Linked DNA regions of Homo sapiens: regions 2, 3 and 4 are each linked to region 1. Evidence: promoter capture Hi-C in 16 types of primary human blood cells and fetal thymus (Javierre and others, 2016). All regions are on one chromosome and are shown on one strand. Each heading gives the region's core, a stretch centred on a gene start or on the middle of the fragment in contact. The rest is flanking DNA. Distances are from core to core; before and after follow the strand shown. Region 1 holds the start of SMAD2 (SMAD family member 2). Region 2 has its middle 56 kb from the start of ZBTB7C. Region 3 holds the start of IER3IP1 (immediate early response 3 interacting protein 1). Region 4 has its middle 34 kb from the start of ZBTB7C.

What was found. The method cuts DNA at HindIII sites, captures the fragments that hold promoters and counts their contacts. A CHiCAGO score of 5 or more calls a contact.
Region 2: a contact is called between a fragment that was not itself captured here and the fragment with the promoter of SMAD2 in region 1, in 3 of 17 cell types (M2 macrophages, M0 macrophages and M1 macrophages). The highest score is 6.2, in M2 macrophages.
Region 3: a contact is called between the fragment with the promoter of IER3IP1 here and the fragment with the promoter of SMAD2 in region 1, in 13 of 17 cell types (activated CD4 T cells, naive CD8 T cells, naive B cells and 10 more). The highest score is 16.6, in activated CD4 T cells.
Region 4: a fragment that was not itself captured here is called in contact with the fragment with the promoter of SMAD2 in region 1 in 4 of 17 cell types (M1 macrophages, M2 macrophages, M0 macrophages and 1 more); the score reaches 9.1 in M1 macrophages.

The regions. Positions count from the first base shown.
Region 1 is chr18:47,929,273-47,933,318 of GRCh38, forward strand. SMAD2 (SMAD family member 2) reads right to left here and starts at 1,387. Exons shown (of 11, transcript NM_005901.6): 1 at 1,089-1,387. It overlaps LOC124904297 (a long non-coding RNA gene), which reads right to left. Exons shown (of 2, transcript XR_007066360.1): 2 at 2,916-4,046. RefSeq lists silencers at 816-1,345, 1,376-2,305. The HindIII fragment of the contact is 8,478 bases long and covers 1-4,046 here.
Region 2 is chr18:48,463,546-48,467,528 of GRCh38, forward strand. No RefSeq gene overlaps it. Among named protein-coding and RNA genes, the nearest start is that of ZBTB7C, 56 kb to the left of the region's middle. The HindIII fragment of the contact is 6,511 bases long and covers 1-3,983 here.
Region 3 is chr18:47,174,654-47,178,450 of GRCh38, forward strand. It overlaps IER3IP1 (immediate early response 3 interacting protein 1), which reads right to left and starts at 1,711. Exons shown (of 3, transcript NM_016097.5): 1 at 1,534-1,711. The coding sequence starts at 1,624. RefSeq lists enhancers at 1,620-1,739, 1,750-1,879. The HindIII fragment of the contact is 4,620 bases long and covers 282-3,797 here.
Region 4 is chr18:48,441,222-48,445,242 of GRCh38, forward strand. No RefSeq gene overlaps it. Among named protein-coding and RNA genes, the nearest start is that of ZBTB7C, 34 kb to the left of the region's middle. The HindIII fragment of the contact is 1,578 bases long and covers 905-2,482 here.

The DNA.
Region 1 (4,046 bases), core at 137-2,636:
AATTTTCAGCATAATAAGAGCAAATTTATTACTAGGCTCAAGGAAAACATCCTATCAGCGATTCATTCATACGAAACTATCAGGTTCAATTCATATGAAGTCAGAAGAGAGAAAAAGAATTTTGGAAATTAAATCACATTTCAAAGACCATTTCTAAAAAGATGTAATTATTCCAAGTTATTTATTTATTAACAATTATTTTACACATGTCGTTTTAAAAGTTTCACAAACCCAAATTTAAGATAGTCCAAATTGCAACAAACAAGACATGACTTTGATGGAAAATGCTGCTTGCAAATTCGTTTTACCTGGAAATTTCTTTTTTAAAGGTATGGTTGACAACACACTGGTGGTATTTTGCTTTTAAAGGGTCAAGAGAAAGGAATAACAAAACCAACCCAGGCATTCTTTTTCTGTTTAGGATCAAAAGGACATTTTAAGGATAAGTAAAAGACAAAAGTACCTGACCCAAAGACAATATCCCCCTCCAAGAGAACAAAGTAAGTTGCAATTTTAAAAACCAAGTTTGAAATACGAGAAATCACTTCGAGGGCTTTCCAAAGGCGTGTGATAAAAACTAATAGGCTCCACCCGCAGAACAACTTTCACAAGTGAGTGAAGGATGATCACAGAGTTATCAGCTGTGTGCGTGTTTGTGAGTACACACAAGCCATGGAAAACCCGAGACTACCACTGTTAACAAAGGTTACGAGACCAAAAAAAAAAAGTGGAGGCAAAGTATTACGCGTCCCTAACAAGGCTTCCCCACAACTCCTGAAACAAGAGCTCTGGCCCTTCGGCTTTAAAAATCAGAACCACAAACTATGGAGTGTGAGAGCAGCGAGGGGAAGGGACGCAGGCAGCCCCCGCCCCCGTCAGCCTGGGCGGCAGCGCAGTGCAACCGAGCCCCGTCCCTTCCCGGCTCTCCGGCCCCGAACCCGCACGCCCGGGCCGGCGCACCCACAGCCCCCGAACTCACCACACCCCAGCCCCCACCCGCAGCGGCCATGTGACACGGCCCATCGCCCCGGCCGCGGACGCACGCAAACACTTCCCTAGCTGGAGGCCCGCGGGCGCCCAGGCTTTACCTGCAAGGTGGCGCCAGGTCCCGCCCCGTCAGATCCGGGGGGTCCGGGACCTTTTGTTCCTTCCTCTTCCGATGGGATGGAGGGGGCTGGGAGGGGAAGAGGGGAATGGGCGATTGGAGGCGGAACTGAAAACACTCCCGGCCGCCGTCTTCCCGCCCCGCCCCCAGGCCCGGGCCCGGCCGGCGGCCCGGGCGCGCGGGAGGGTAGGGGAAGAGAGGGGAGGGGAGGGGAGGAGAGGGAAGGGGAGGGGAGGGAGCCTGGCCGCCGCCCGCGGGGAAGGAGGGGGTGAGGACGCGCGCGCCCGCGCTGCCCCTCCTCCCCTCAGGCGCGCGCCCGCAGCCCTACCGGCCGCCCGCACGGCCGCGCCCTCCCCCGCCAGCCCACCTCCGCTTCCGCCCTCCGCCCTCGGCCGCCGGCCGCCGCGGCGCCACGCACCCACCTCCCGGCGGCTGGCGGGCTGCTGGCTGGCGAGCTGCTTCTCCGCCGCCGCGGCCGCGCGGGTAGACCCGCCTGCCACCCTGGGCCGCGGGCCCCGCCGATTCGCCGGCGCAGCCCCGGGGCTGGCACCCTGCCGCCCGCTGATTGGCGCCTCCAGCCGCCCGTTAGGGCGCGAGGCACGCCGGCCGAAAGCCGCGCGGGGCGGGTATGGAAGACGGAGGGAGCGGAGGAGGAAAGGAACGAGGCCGAGCACCGCGGGAAGGGCCGGGGGGCGAGCGGGGCGCGGGGAGTCGCCGGCCACCGCCTCCCCACCTCCCTTTGCCTACGGCCCGCCCCGCCTCCCGGCCGGACCGGCGGCGCCCGCAGCCAATCAGCACGAGGGAAGCTCGGGGTGTGAGCCGCGCATCGGGGGCCTCGAATCGGAAGGGAGACGTCGCTCGCTGATTGGTCCCGCCTCCCCAGTCTAGCGTGAGGCGAGGCGGGGCGCGGCCGGGCGGGGCGGGACGCCCGCGGTTTCGCTTGAGTTGGGCGCCGGCGCGCTCCCACCGGGGCTCACGGGCGGAGAGGGAGAGGCCCGCGCCTTGCCGCGCATTAAGACGATTCCCGGTGACCGCCCGATCCCTCGCCAGCGTCGTGGGTGGGGCCTGTAGGGGCCTGCCGCCTCGTCCACCGTCCGTCGTGAGGCCGGCAGCGGACACGTGCTCATCCCACGGGGAGGCCCCGCGCAGCGCGGAGGACGCGCCTGAGAGAGAAAAGGGGTTCGGGAGAAGCCCGAGGACCCGGCCCGTGACTGGGCGCGCCCTATGCAAATGAGCGGGCGGGGCCCTCGTGTTGCTGAACGAGGGCGGGTTCGCGATGTAAATAAGCCCAGAGGTGGGGTCTTTGGAGAGCACTTAGGGCCCGGGTAGGGGATGCCAGGTATAAGTGTTTAACCTAAATTTTGGTTCCGTCTTCAGTAAAAATGATATCAATAATCCATGTCCCGAAGGGTCTTTGTGAAGTCTAAAAGAAACATCTGTCACGATGTCCCTTAATGGCTGGGATATCTTCCCTTCCCCTTTTCTCCACTGTTGCGACGATTAGGCCCCAACTTGCACATCTGCCCTACAGGAGGCAGCAAGGCCCTAAACTTACGGCTGCCCAGAACATAACTGCACCCAGGGAAAACCTTGTTGCGGTTACCCTTAGGAACACCCAAGCCTCTGCTGACAAAATATTGAGCCCAACTAATCACATCAGGTGTTTACTATGCACCCACTGTGACACAGGCAGGGAGTACCGTAGAACTAAAGTTGAAAAGAAACTTAGGTTTCACACAGGTGCCAGAGACAAGACTAGAACACAGTTTTTTTTTGGCTGCCTGTCCAGTAATTCATTCTCATGTGTGGCTTAGTTTATAGATTTAATTGGGGACTTCAAATAAGCGGGAAAGAAGCACTAGCAATACAAATCGGTAATCAGGAAGTACCAAATGAGCACTCCAAACAGTAAGAGTTTTTGAAGTATACGCTTTCTTCTGAGAAATGAACGTGTCCCAGAGGAGGGTGCCTTCAGATGGACCTTAAGAGAGATGTGGCCATCCCCTGAGTCATACAAGTTTTCCAGATGTCCTTTCAAAATCTCTGTCCTTTCCACCGTCTCTGTCCTCACACATAGAGGAACTTTTCTCACGGGAAGGTTGCGATGAAGAGCATAAACCCAGGAGTCAGGCACGTTGTAGCTTTGAGTACGACTCTGTTCCAGATCTGTAATCTTTGGCAAATGGAACTCACCTGCAACGATACCTACTTAAATATAGTTGTGTGATGATTAAATAATAAATATGAAAGTAAATAACATAGGGCTTTGAAGTTCAAGGAAAGTCAGTGATCATTAACTTCTCTTCTGTTGCGTGCGAACATTTATGCTGAGACGAACCTACTCAGCAGAAATTCTTCCTCCAAAAATTCCCTTCCAGGGTGGTTTCTTCCATTGTTAGTTTAGAGGCAGCTCTACTAACCCCTTAATAAAAATAAAAAAGTTTGTGAAGGACACCCAGGAAGCCATTTGGTGGAGCTGTCCCACCTCCTCTGCCTTGTTTCCTCTTTCCAGAGCCACTAGGGAGGACGGTCCAGGGCAAAGGCTGTTCAACTTACAAGTAGGAAGGCTGTTTCTTGTTTTTGGTCTGTCTTCCTGCTAATACAAGTCAACAGTTGTAATATGAAGTAGCATATTAAAAGCTACCCTGGTCACACAAGTATTTTCTCCTGTGTGAACAGGGTGTGGATTTGGGTGTCCACCTGAGTAGTAGAAATAGGAACCAAAGCAGGCCTGGCTGGGATTCCAGAATGTGCTCCTAGTATGGAAGTTAGGTACTTTGAGGTTACATTAATTAAGTGGGTAGTACGCCTGAGGTCTAAGTTAGACCATTTCTCCAAAGTCTCAGACTTTGGGTCCATAACTCTTCCATTTAGGAAGCCTTCCAGGATCTACAATTGAGGAAGAGGGAGAAGGGACAATCTGGCTACCAATGCAGTCCCC
Region 2 (3,983 bases), core at 490-2,989, 530 kb after region 1:
ACAAAAGTCCTAAAACAGGGATTCTGATTTATTTACTGTGATTGCTGAGTACCCAACCTACTAGCAAAAAAGACCATTGCTGAGTCCTTGAAATGGCATCCTTCATCATGTACACCAGCTAGCAAACTGGTGACAAGTCAATGACATTGGAATGCTTCTGTGTTAGAGCAGACAGCAATGCATCTTTCCTAGAATTGACACCAGCTCCAGAGGGAGATTTTCTTTAGCGTGAGGCATTACCCACACACATACACACATACACACACACCAGCACATGGCATAATGCCCAGGATATTGTAACAATTTTTTGGAGAATAAATGAGTGAATAAATGAATGAATACTAGAAATAAGAGTGTGAGCCAAAGAGTGAAAGGCTTACATAAATTTGGGGAGATGAGTGACGCTTCTCTAGTCTCTTTTTCCTTATTCCTCAACCCAGGACATAGATCAAGCTCTTTACTGGGCCATGATAATCGCTGTTCATGTATATCCCCATCTGCAATCTCTCTCTGACAGCTCCTTCCCTCCAGGCTTAAACTATCACATCTCTCTTGTTGGTAAAGTACTCTGACAGATACTATTTTATTTTATCTTTACCACAATCTCATGAGATAGGGATGTGGAGAGGGATAGGTTCATCAATATCCATTTTCTCTTCTTCTTCCCGGACCCAGGGCTCAACGTTATTTCCCAATCTATTTGCCATTAGGTTAGGACTGGATTACCTAGTTCAGACAAATGGAAAGTGATGTGTGCCACTTCCAGGCCTGGCACATACAAATCTCTCATATGACTCTCCTTTCTGATCCATGGAGACCCTGAAAGCCACATTCTGAAGATGGCAGCTCCAAAAGATGGAAGGAAACTGGGTGCCTGAATGACTGCCTGGAGCAAAGGCCCCTGTCTGACTTGCATTGGACTTATGCATAAACAAGAAAGGTTTTTATCTTATTCAACCTCTGAGAGTTTGAGATTGTGACAACAGTTAGCCAAGCCTGAATAAGCAGAAAGACAGGAGTGAATTTTATTACAAAGAATGTACAGAAACTGAAACATCAAAAAGTGGAAAAAGTGTAAGTAATGAAAAATCACCTGGTTTATGGCCAAACACACCTAGAAATGGTTTCATGGTTCCATCACTTGCTGGCTGTGTGTCTTTAAGCACATCATTTAATATTTCTGAGCATCAGTTTTCGTATTTGTTAAATAAAGGGGAAAATATCTGTCTCGCAGTTTTATCATAAGAATGGTGATAATATTTATAAGGTGCCAGGGTGGCACACAGTAGGTGGCATACAGTAGGTTCTCAATGAACATCCACTCTCACTGTTGTTACATCAGAGATTCACATGGTTAATCATATCAGAGCTGGAGTCAGAGTCCCATTTTCTGAAGGCCAACCCAGAACAGCCTCTACTGTACACCGTATTTTTCCCCAGCCCTGCTTTATAGTTGAAACTTAATTATAAAGGAGTCCTCCTTAGCATTCATGTTTGTGAGAACAAGGCTGGGAACTTCTTGTGAACACTCTGCCTGCACATCTATGAAAGGCTGGGATTAGGTCCCCAGGGCACAACTGCAGTGGTGTGGCATGAGTCTAATTATAAGAGAATTCTACTGAATTTGGAATAAAGGTAATGAAGAAGTCACGAATAATGACCAAAGCTACAGTATTTCACTCTGCAGTTTTTAGATTCAAACTTTGCCTGTTTCTAAGACTATGTGAACCAGCTATGAACATAAAAATAAATAAATAAATAAATAAATAAATAAATAAATAAATAAATGCATTTCAAGAGTAAGTTTTTGCAGTCTCTATTCAACATCCTTTACTCCTGCATGAGTCTCACTGTGCCCTCTGGTGGTGGCTGTGAATTTAATTGGGTTTGTTTATTCCTAGACTCTAAAGGAGTGTTGGAAATTCTCATGCTGGAGCGTTGGAACTTCATCCTTGCAAAAGATTCTGGTAATCACATTTACATACACCAACTGTCCAGGGAAGATAAGGGTGACGGACCTTAGAGTGCTCTGCCTGGAGGTCACTGGAGAACGATGAGAGGCTCAGAAAGGTGTTGGCAGGAATGGAGAGGAGCAAGCATTTGAAGGGAGGATTTGGAAGTAGGCATGCATTAGAGAAAGGAGGCAAAACAATGAAAGAATAGGCTAGGAAATCTCTCCCAGACCACTGGCCACATCCAGGCTCTTGAAGGCTACTCTTCTCCCAAAAGGTACAAGAAGTACAAAACTCCAAGGGGCAATTTAAAGACAGCACCATTCATTTCTACCACACTGCAATTCCTCGCTCATCTGCCTCCATCCTTGCACCTGCCAGAGATGCTGGCCAGCAATTCCCAGGCAAAGGAAATGGTGCAGGTCATGATACCTGAAATCTCACAGCCACTGTTAGCATGACTGAGTTGCTCCCTGTAGAGATTCACATCTTAAGAGAAGACTCTTCTGGGCTCCAAAGCAGAGTGCAAGCAGTCCTAGGAAAATGTAACACCTTTTTGTTTTTGTTTTTTAAGACTTTTGGAAAAACTGGAATAAGCAAAGATAAGTGGCTTTCTGTGCTGCAGGACATCTTTGAGCCTTAAGTACAACTAATATGCTATGAGAGTTAGCTATGGAGAATTATAGAACAGCTTTTCCAGAATTTATTTGGGAATCATACTTACTTACAAGATGCTGTCCAGAACTCACTTGAGAAATACTTTCTTTTTTTTTTTTTTTGAGATGGAGTCTCGCTCTGTCGCCCAGGCTGGAGTGCAGTGGCGCCATCTCAGCTCACTGCAAGCTCCGCCTCCCGGGTTCACGCCATTCTCCTGCCTCAGCCTCCCGAGTAGCTGGGACTACAGGCGCCCGCCACTGCACCTGGCTAATTTTTTGTATTTTTAGTAGAGATGGGGTTTCACCATGTTAGCCAGGATGGTCTAGATCTCCTGACCTCATGATCCGCCCTCCTTGGCCTCCCAAAGTGCTGGGATTACAGGCATGAGCCACCGCGCCTGGCCGAGAAATACTTTCTAAAACAATGGTAAACTCATTCTTTTTAAGGTCCTGACTGCCAGAGGCAGGCCCTTGTGATAGTACTAGTCTAGGTTTCAAGATACCAGAGTTCCCCATTGGATCTTCCACTCTGTGAGTGCTTTTGGCTCGTTCTTTTCATTTCTTTGGGTTCCATTTCCTTTCCTGCAAACCAAGGAGTTTGGAGAGATCTGCAGTTTTCTCTGAGACAGAGAAACTCGGGGCTCCATGGAAGTACTCCATTGGTTCCACAACAGTCATGCAACATCCACAAATTACAAAAATGGGAACTCCTAGTCCATTCATTTCTTTTTACCTGTTTTACATTGAGGATTTACCAAATAGTTCATTTGAATAAAAGAGATTATTTGAACTGGGCATGGTGGCTCATACCTATAATCCCAAAATTTTGGGAGGCCAAAGCAGGATAATCACTTGAGGCCAGGAGTTCAAGACCAGACTAAGCAGCATAGCAAGACCCTGCCTCTCCAAAAAATAAAGAAAATTAGCCAGGCATGGTGGTGTGCATCTGAAGTCTCAGCTGTCTCAGCTATCCCAGCTACTCAGGAGGCCGAGGTGGGAGGATTGCTTGAGACCAGGAGTTCAAAGCTGCAGTGAGCCACGATGGCATCACTGCACTACAGCCTGGGAGAGAGACTGAGACCCTGTCTCTAAAAACAGTGTATTTGTGAAAACTGGTTGAACACCTCTAGGATATTTAGTCTCTAAGGGCAATTCCAGGTATACATAGTCATACAAGTGTATGAACTAGGATTCAGTTAAAGCAGTCTGGAATGACAGATTTTCCCAGGGTGGGCGGTTGCTGCCGTTGCTGGCTGTGTTGCGTGACCAGGTCACAAGACTTCAGGGGAATTTTTGGACCACCCAGGTCACTCAGCTATTGGGCATAACAAAAAAAAGAATGATGTGACTACACTGGAAATGGTTACAGGACACA
Region 3 (3,797 bases), core at 461-2,960, 750 kb before region 1:
GTGAGACTCCGTCTCAAAAAAAAAAAAAAATGGGTCTTCCCACATCCACTGCTTTCCCTTCCAATCTTTCCTCCGTATTGTAGCCTCAAGGATCTTGCAAATAACACAAATCTGGTCATGTCGCTGTCTTAAGACCCTCTTCTCACCTGCCTCAGTTTTCACACCAGGTCTACACTGCTTAAAGCTCTCCTCACCCTTCCAGCTCCTCCCAACCCTTCACCTTCACCGAGTTAATGTTTACTCATGTATCAGATTTCAGGTTAGACACGCTTCCTCCAAGAAGCTTTCGCAGATACACAAGTTAGTATCTGCCCGTACTTCTCTTACATAATACTCTCTATACTTGTTATTGTCATTTGTTTAGTTTTTATTTAGATTAACTTCCATCAGAAGGGCAGAGTAGCTGCTGTAACTTCAGTTACTATAAATGGGCCTGGCACATACTTTGCACTCAATAAATATCTTCTGAAGTAAATGAAATGAATCAATCTTGCTCCTGGGTTTACGTTTCAGTGATTCAAACGGGCATACTTGGTACACAACGTGAGGTCCTGGAAGGTATAACTTGTGTTTTCATTTTTGAATTTCTAAATTCTAGCAGAGTTTTTGGCACACTCTATGCACCCAATAAGCTATCTGAATAAACTTTTCTTGGAACATGAGTGTCTGAATGTCCTGATAACTCCAACACGTTCCCTTCCTGTAATTCCTAAAGCCCAGGAACACTTATTGCCTTCCATCAGTTAGTGAACTACTGATGCTCCAAAATGGGTCACGCCTCCTTCCCCTCCACACCCAACTCGTTTTGTTTTGTTTGTTTTGTTTTGTTAGACGGAGTCTCACTCTATTGCCCAGGCTGGAGTGCAATGGCGCAATCTCGGCTCACTGCAACCTCTGCCTCCCAGGTTTAAGTGATTCTCCTGCCTCAGCCTCCCGCCCGGCTAATTTTTGTATTTCCACCACCACGTCCGGCTAATCTTTGTATTTTTAGTAGAGACGGGGTTTTACCATGTTGGCCAGGCTGGTCCCAAACTCCTGACATCATGATCCGCCGGCCTCGGCCTGCCAAAGTGCTGGGATTACAGGCGGGAGCCACCGCGCCCGGCCCCACACCCCCAACTCTTAGCCCGAAACTCAGACCCCGGGTTTTCGACTATTAAAAGTAGTCACAGGACCGCGACACTGCACTTCAGCCTGGGCAAAAGAGCGAGACTCCCCCTCAAAAAAAAAAGTAGTCACAGAAAACTGAATTAAATTACTGACCTGAAGTAATCGCAAGCAGAGGCGTCCCTGACTGACTTCTATATCCCTCCACCCCAACCCCCTGGGCCCTGCACAGCGGGTGTCTGTTGAATATTCTCCCGGCTGTTGAGCCCAAACCTGATGAGAGGAAAGGCTCGGCTTCCACTCCAAGCCGAGCCTTCCGCTGTTCTTCTGTCCCGGCCCTTGGTGTCCCCTCACGCGGCCCCATTAGGTTACGCGCCCCCGGGGACTCCGCCGCCGCCCCAGCCCGCGCCCCGCGGTCCCACTCACTGTTCTTGAGGAATCGCTCCTCGTGCAGCACTGCGATGGCGTTGACGCAGAGCAGGGCTGCCTGCAGCAGTGAGTACAGGGTAAAGGCCATGGCCGTCCGAGGCCGCCCCGAAGTCCAAGCGATTTCTCTCCCGCCGCCGCAAGGGACGTGGCGCCTCCACGGCCGGCGCCTTCCTACGGAAGCCGATGGGGCCCAAAACGAACTCTCCGGGAAGCCCCGCCTCCATCTGGCTAAGAACCGCCCCTCGCTGAAGACTGCAAGTCCTGCCGCTTGTCTAGACCGGTGATGTGCAATCAATGCTCTGATGTGGCCAGTGCTGCAGGTGCAAAATACACACCGGATTTCACACACTTGGAACTGGAACAAGGATGAAGAATATCCCAATAATTTTTTTTTTTTTGAGATGGAGTCTGGCCCTGTCGCCCAAACTGGAGTGCAGTGGCACGATCTCGGCTCACTGCAAGCTCCGACTCCCGGGTTCACGCCATTCTCCTGCCTCAGCCTCCCAAGTAGCTGGGACTACAGGTGCCCGCCACCACGCCCGGCTAATTTTTTGTATTTTTAGTAGAGACGGGGTTTCACCGTGTTAGCCAGGATGGTCTCAATCTCCTGACCTCGTGATTCCCCCCTCCTCGGCCTCCCAATAATTTTTAAATGTTGATAACATGTTGAAATGAAAATATTTTGAGGCCGGGCGCAGTGGCTCACGCCTGTAATTCTAGCACTTTGGGAAACCGAGGCGGGCAAATCACCTAAGGTCAAGAGTTCGAGACCAGTCTGGCCAACATGGCAAAACCCTGTCTCTACTGAAAATACAAAAATTAGCTGGGTGTGATGGTGGGCTCCTGTAATCCCAGCTACTCAGGAGGCTGAGAGAAGAGAATCACTTGAACCCGGGAGGCAGAGACTGCAGTGAGCCGAGATCCAGCCTGGGTGACAGAGCAAGAGGAAAGAAGGAAGGAAGGGAGGAAGGTTTCTTGTTTATTTTTAATTATTTTATTTAATGTGGTTATGAAGATACTGTAAATGACATGTGACGCTTGCATTATATTTCTATTGCTCAGTACTGCACTTGATGCTCCCAGGAGATACAGGAGATACTAATATTCCCATTTCAGATTTCAGAATGCTAAAACAAAATAACTGTTTTAAAATTACTCAGTGAGAAACATCCCCTCCTTGACCAAACTCCAACCAAGATCCTCTGAGCCTCTTCTTTTTTTTTTTCCCCCCCCAGGAACAGGGTCTTGCTCTGTTGCCCAGGCTGGAGTGCAGTGGCACCATCATAGCTCAATGCAGCCTTCAGCTCCTGGCTCGAGCAGTCCTCCTGCCTTAGCCTCCTGCTTAGCTGTATGTGATGGTTAAGACTGAGTGTCAACTTGATTGGATTGAAGGATGCAAAGTATTGATCCTGGGTGTGTCTGTGAGGGTGTTGCCAAAGGAGATTAACATTTGAGTCAGTGGGCTGGGAAAGACAGGTCCACTCTTAATCCAAGTGGGCACCATCTAATCAGCTGCTGGAGTGGCCAGGATATAAAGCAGGCAAAAAACCAATGAAAAGGGTATGCCAAGACCAGCTCGGTTGGGGAGACCCTAACCCAGCGGTGCTAGAGGAATTAAAGACACACACAGAGGTGTGAAGTGGGAAATCAGGGGTCTTATAGCCTTCAGAGCTGAGATCCCCGAACAAAGATTTACCCACGTATTTATTAACAGCAAACCAGTCATTAGCATTGTTTCTATAGATGTTAAATTAACTAAAAGTATCCCTTATGGGAAATGAAGGGATGGGCCGAATTAATTGCAGCAGGAACACATCCTTAAGACACAGATCTCTCAGGCTTTTGTTTGTGGCTTAAGAATGCCTTTAAGCAGTTTTCCAACCTGGGTGGGCCAGGTATTCCTTGCCCTCATTCCCGTAAACCCACAACCTTCCAGCTTGGGCGTTAGGGCCATTATGGACATGTTATAGTGCTGCAGAGATTTTATTTATGGCCAGTTTTGGGGCTAGTTTATGGCCAGACTGTTGGGGGCTTGCTCTCAACAAGGGTAGACTGGCTTAGCCTCCCAGCCTACATCTTTCTCCCATGCTGGATGCTTCCTACCCTTGAACGTTGGACTTCAAGTTCTTCAGCTTTGGGACTCAGACTGGCTTCCTCAGCTTGCAGACGGCTTATTGTGGGATCTTGTGATCGTGTGAGTTAATAGTACCGAATAAGCTCCCTCTTTGTATATATATCTCCTATTAGTTCTGTCCCTCTAG
Region 4 (4,021 bases), core at 444-2,943, 510 kb after region 1:
GGAAATGCTCCAAGTCCTCGGCTGAGTTCTCCGTAGTCAGACCCCTCTGTCAGGAAAGTGGCTTAAATGAATTTAAACCCACCCAGGTTGGCCTGTGAGGGCTGTTCCATTAAAGCTGAAGGCCAGGCAGGATTCCGCTTGTTGAAATCTGTGTTCCTTTTGTACACTTTTAAAGTCACATCTGGTGCTGACCTTAGAAACAGCACTTGTGTGCTGAATGAATGCAGTGTGACTGCGTGTGCTCAGGGTTTTGGGACTTCTCTGAAAGGCGCTCCCAACCCTCCCAAACTGGCACAGGATGTCCGGCCGTGGTCGGCTTCCTCCACCGCGGCAGAGGATGCCAACTGAAACACGACCTCCTGCCAAGACTCTGGGACCACGCTCAGATCCAGGTCCCTGGGGGCAAAAGGCAGCTCTGTGCCAAGTTCTCCAAAGCCCGGCTCCTCCCGGGCTCTCATCCTGAAAGTGCTCTGGCCTCCTCTTTGGAAAAGGCCCATCAATCTTCTGAGGATTTCTGACACCGGTCGGAGCGCTGGAAACTGCAAGCCCTTCTCAGTCTGTCAGCTGCCTCACACTCTCCAGCCCGGCGAAGCTGTGTGCAGTGTCTGGAAAAGCAGTTACTGGTTTGGTTGTGGTCTGCCTTTGCAGCTGAGCTGGTTCCAAGTGCCACGTCCTCCACCGGCTGCTCTGGCCCAGGACACTCAGGAAAGGTGACAAGGCGGCCCCCTTGCACACTTGCCTGGAGCTATGCTCCCTCCATTTCTTGGAATCCAAGTATATTTTCTTTTGTGGAATGAATGAATACAAAGGGTGCCACCCCTTTGCCCAGCCCCCCATCTGAAATTCTTCCTCCAGCTGTCTCGATAGCGATGCTTGACAGACTGGAGGAGAATAGTTTGAATGAAGCTTCCCAGTGCAATATTTCCCTGGGCTTGAGTTGAATTGATCTAGCCTGTGATGCCATTTATCTTCACAACCTTCTTAGAGAGGAGCAGGGGAACAAATCTCTTTCGTTCGCATATGGGGAAACTGAGACTAAGGGAAGCTACAGAGACAACTGTAGGGAAAAAGCCAGCAGAGCAGGGCCAATCTGAGAAAATGCATGCTGATGAGATAGTCTTTTCCTGAGGGATTTACACAATCACTGGGCATAGAGGACAACATGGGAGGGGACTTAGGAAGAACTGGAGATGGGCCCCCTTACAAAATTCGTTTGGGTGAACTCAAATTTAAACGTGCACCCCCACCTCCAAGTCTGGTACTCTTGTGCTGGTGCCCCAAAACCTAGGACAGGAGATGGCAGCTCCAGCGAGGTTTCCCTGATCACTCCTGTCCCCATCCAGCCCTCCCCTCTAAGCTATTCTCTCAATCACAGCCTGAACCACCCTTCCTTCTTTATGGTTTTTTACTGTTTTCAAATTCATGTTGGTCTTCTCTCACTCAGCTAGATTACTTGCTGCTTCTCAAGGGATGGACTGTGCCCTAGATTTTAGAAACCCCAACCCTTCTGGGTTTTCTCTTTGTTTTCTCACTGTTTGCCAAATGATGGTGTCACACACACAGCCCCAGGGGCAGGATCAAAGAAGGCAGTCACTTGGGACTTGGGGGAAAGCAGTCTTGTTTTCCATGAGAAACAACCAGGGGGAGAAAAAAATCAATGTCTGAAATAACTGTTGAGAAAGAAGTGTGGCTTTCTCTTGGAGTCATAGAAAGTGGTTCTGATGTCAGCCTCACACGTAAGAGAATGGATCCAGGGTGAATCCCTAGTAGCTGGCTGAGGCTGACTCAACCCACAGGGAGCTGCCCAGCACATCAAGTATGTGGATTCTCCAGCAGCTACTCCTGCCAGAAACTTCTACCTGTGCCTATTATGCCCATGGCCCCATGATCTCCTGGAACAGCAACCCGAGGGGCCTACCTACCATGTTTCAGCCTCACAGCCAGCCAATTTCACCTCCCTGGCACTACCCATAGTAAATGCCATGAAGGAGACTCAGACTCAGGGGACCACAAATCTGCCCCATCTTGAGCAAATGATTTCCATTCTCTGGCTCTTGGTGTTAGTATCTTTGTAAAACAAAAAAATCAGACTAGCTGATCTGTGAGGGACCCTCTACCTCCAAAACTGCATTGTCTAGACTGGCAGGGAGTGTGTGGGTTTGGTTCTTATTTGGTTGGTTATCTTGTGTATGTCTTGGCCCATGCATGGCCACTTTGGCCCAGGGTGGAGAGCATCATTATCTACACCAAGTACTCTGTAACTAGAGAGTGACTATGTTGCTCCCCTCCAGGGAGGCCAGGGGTGGGCCTAAGGCATCCCAAAAGATGTGTGAAATGTCTTTGAAGTCAATAATTTCCCTTAGAAATTCATGTATATTTTGCATTCTTTTCTATATTATTACTGAGTTGCTTAATATAGGAATTTTTGTCCCCAAATCTTAGGATAAAGTGACCCTCCAGGAGGATGCTTCTTGCTAAAAGAAGCTTGTTTGAGCTTCCTGTAATGAACTGCTACATACTCCTGAAACGGGTTTAAGAAGCACTAATCTGGCCAGGCATGGTGGCTCATGCCTGTAATCCCAGCACTTCGGGAGGCCGAGGCAGGCAGATCATGAAGTCAGGAGATTGAGACCATCCTGGCTAACATGATGAAACCCTATCTCTACTAAAAACACAAAAAAATTAGCCAGGCGTGGTGGTGGGCACCTGTAGTCCCAGCTACTTGGGATGCTGAGGCAGGAGAATGGCATGAACCCAGGAGGTGGAGGTTGCAGTGAGCCAAGGTCACGCCACTGCACTCCAGCCTGGGTGACAGAGCAAGACTCCGTCTCAAAACAAAAACAAAAACAAAAACAAAAACAAAAAAACAAAAAAGAAGCACTAATAAGCACTAATCTGTGGGTGTTTGCAGGAACACCCAGGGCTGAAAATTCATCTTTTGATCCATCCAGGAATCCCTTCTCAGATATTCATCCTTTTCTGTTAAAATGCAAATTCCCTTGGGAAGGGGCTAAAAGTTAGAAAAAAACTGAGACAAATACAAAATTCTTTACTTGTGTCTGAGAGTCAATTACAGCAGGACAGTCCGTGGCTCTTTGGATCAGCAGTGGCTGGTGGCTGAGGATTTTGGTAAACTTCAGTTGAGTCAACACTGTGATTTGACTGTGTCCTTCAGAGCAAGAAGGACTTAGTCTCAGCACTAAGCAGGCCTCCTGGAGAACTGCATTCAGAGCTGGAACCATATGTCAGAGGGATTTGGACTAAACAGCAATGATCTGGACAGAGATCACGGACGTATGTCACATGGGGAATGAATGGAGAGATCAGGATGGGAGTGGGCTGGGAGATGCTCCCAATAGTCATCATGGGAATGGGTTTTTGATTTGTGTAGCTCCAAAGGGCAGAACCTAGACTAGCACTCCTGCATTTTAGGAGTGCAGATTTTAGCTCAGCAGAGGGAAGCCCAGCACCTTGTGAAATGGGGATGGGCTGCCTCTGTAGAAAGAGGGTGCCCTGGTCCTGGGAGAGTCCTCCTATCAGTGGGGTGCTGGAGGGTCACTGGGTTATGGGATCCTTTAAAAGGGTGAGGTGCACATGGAAACACAGCTTCTAGATCCCCTTCAGGGAAGGGCTCGCTATCCAGCTGTGGGGAGTGTGGTCCGCAGAAAGCCTCCAGGGTCAGCTCTTCAGGGTTGGCCTCCCCTGCAGGGAGCCTCCTCTCCTGGGGCACTTGCATCTGGTGACTGAGAGAGGTCTGGACAAGCACAGAAGCCTGGACATCTAGGCAAGAGCTAGGCTGGCTAAGGCTTTGTTTGGTCTGCCTCCCTGTTTGATGTCTTCTTCTGTACCCCAAACTCCATCCCAGTGTGTACTTGGGAAAAACTCTACCTGAGACAAAAGCATACAACATGGGATGGGTCATCCTGAGATTCTAGGGATCCTACTATTATTCGTCACTTACACCTGATTGTGAATAAATTCACTGAAATCTTTGCAGGGAACAAGTTTATACAGGTGTAGC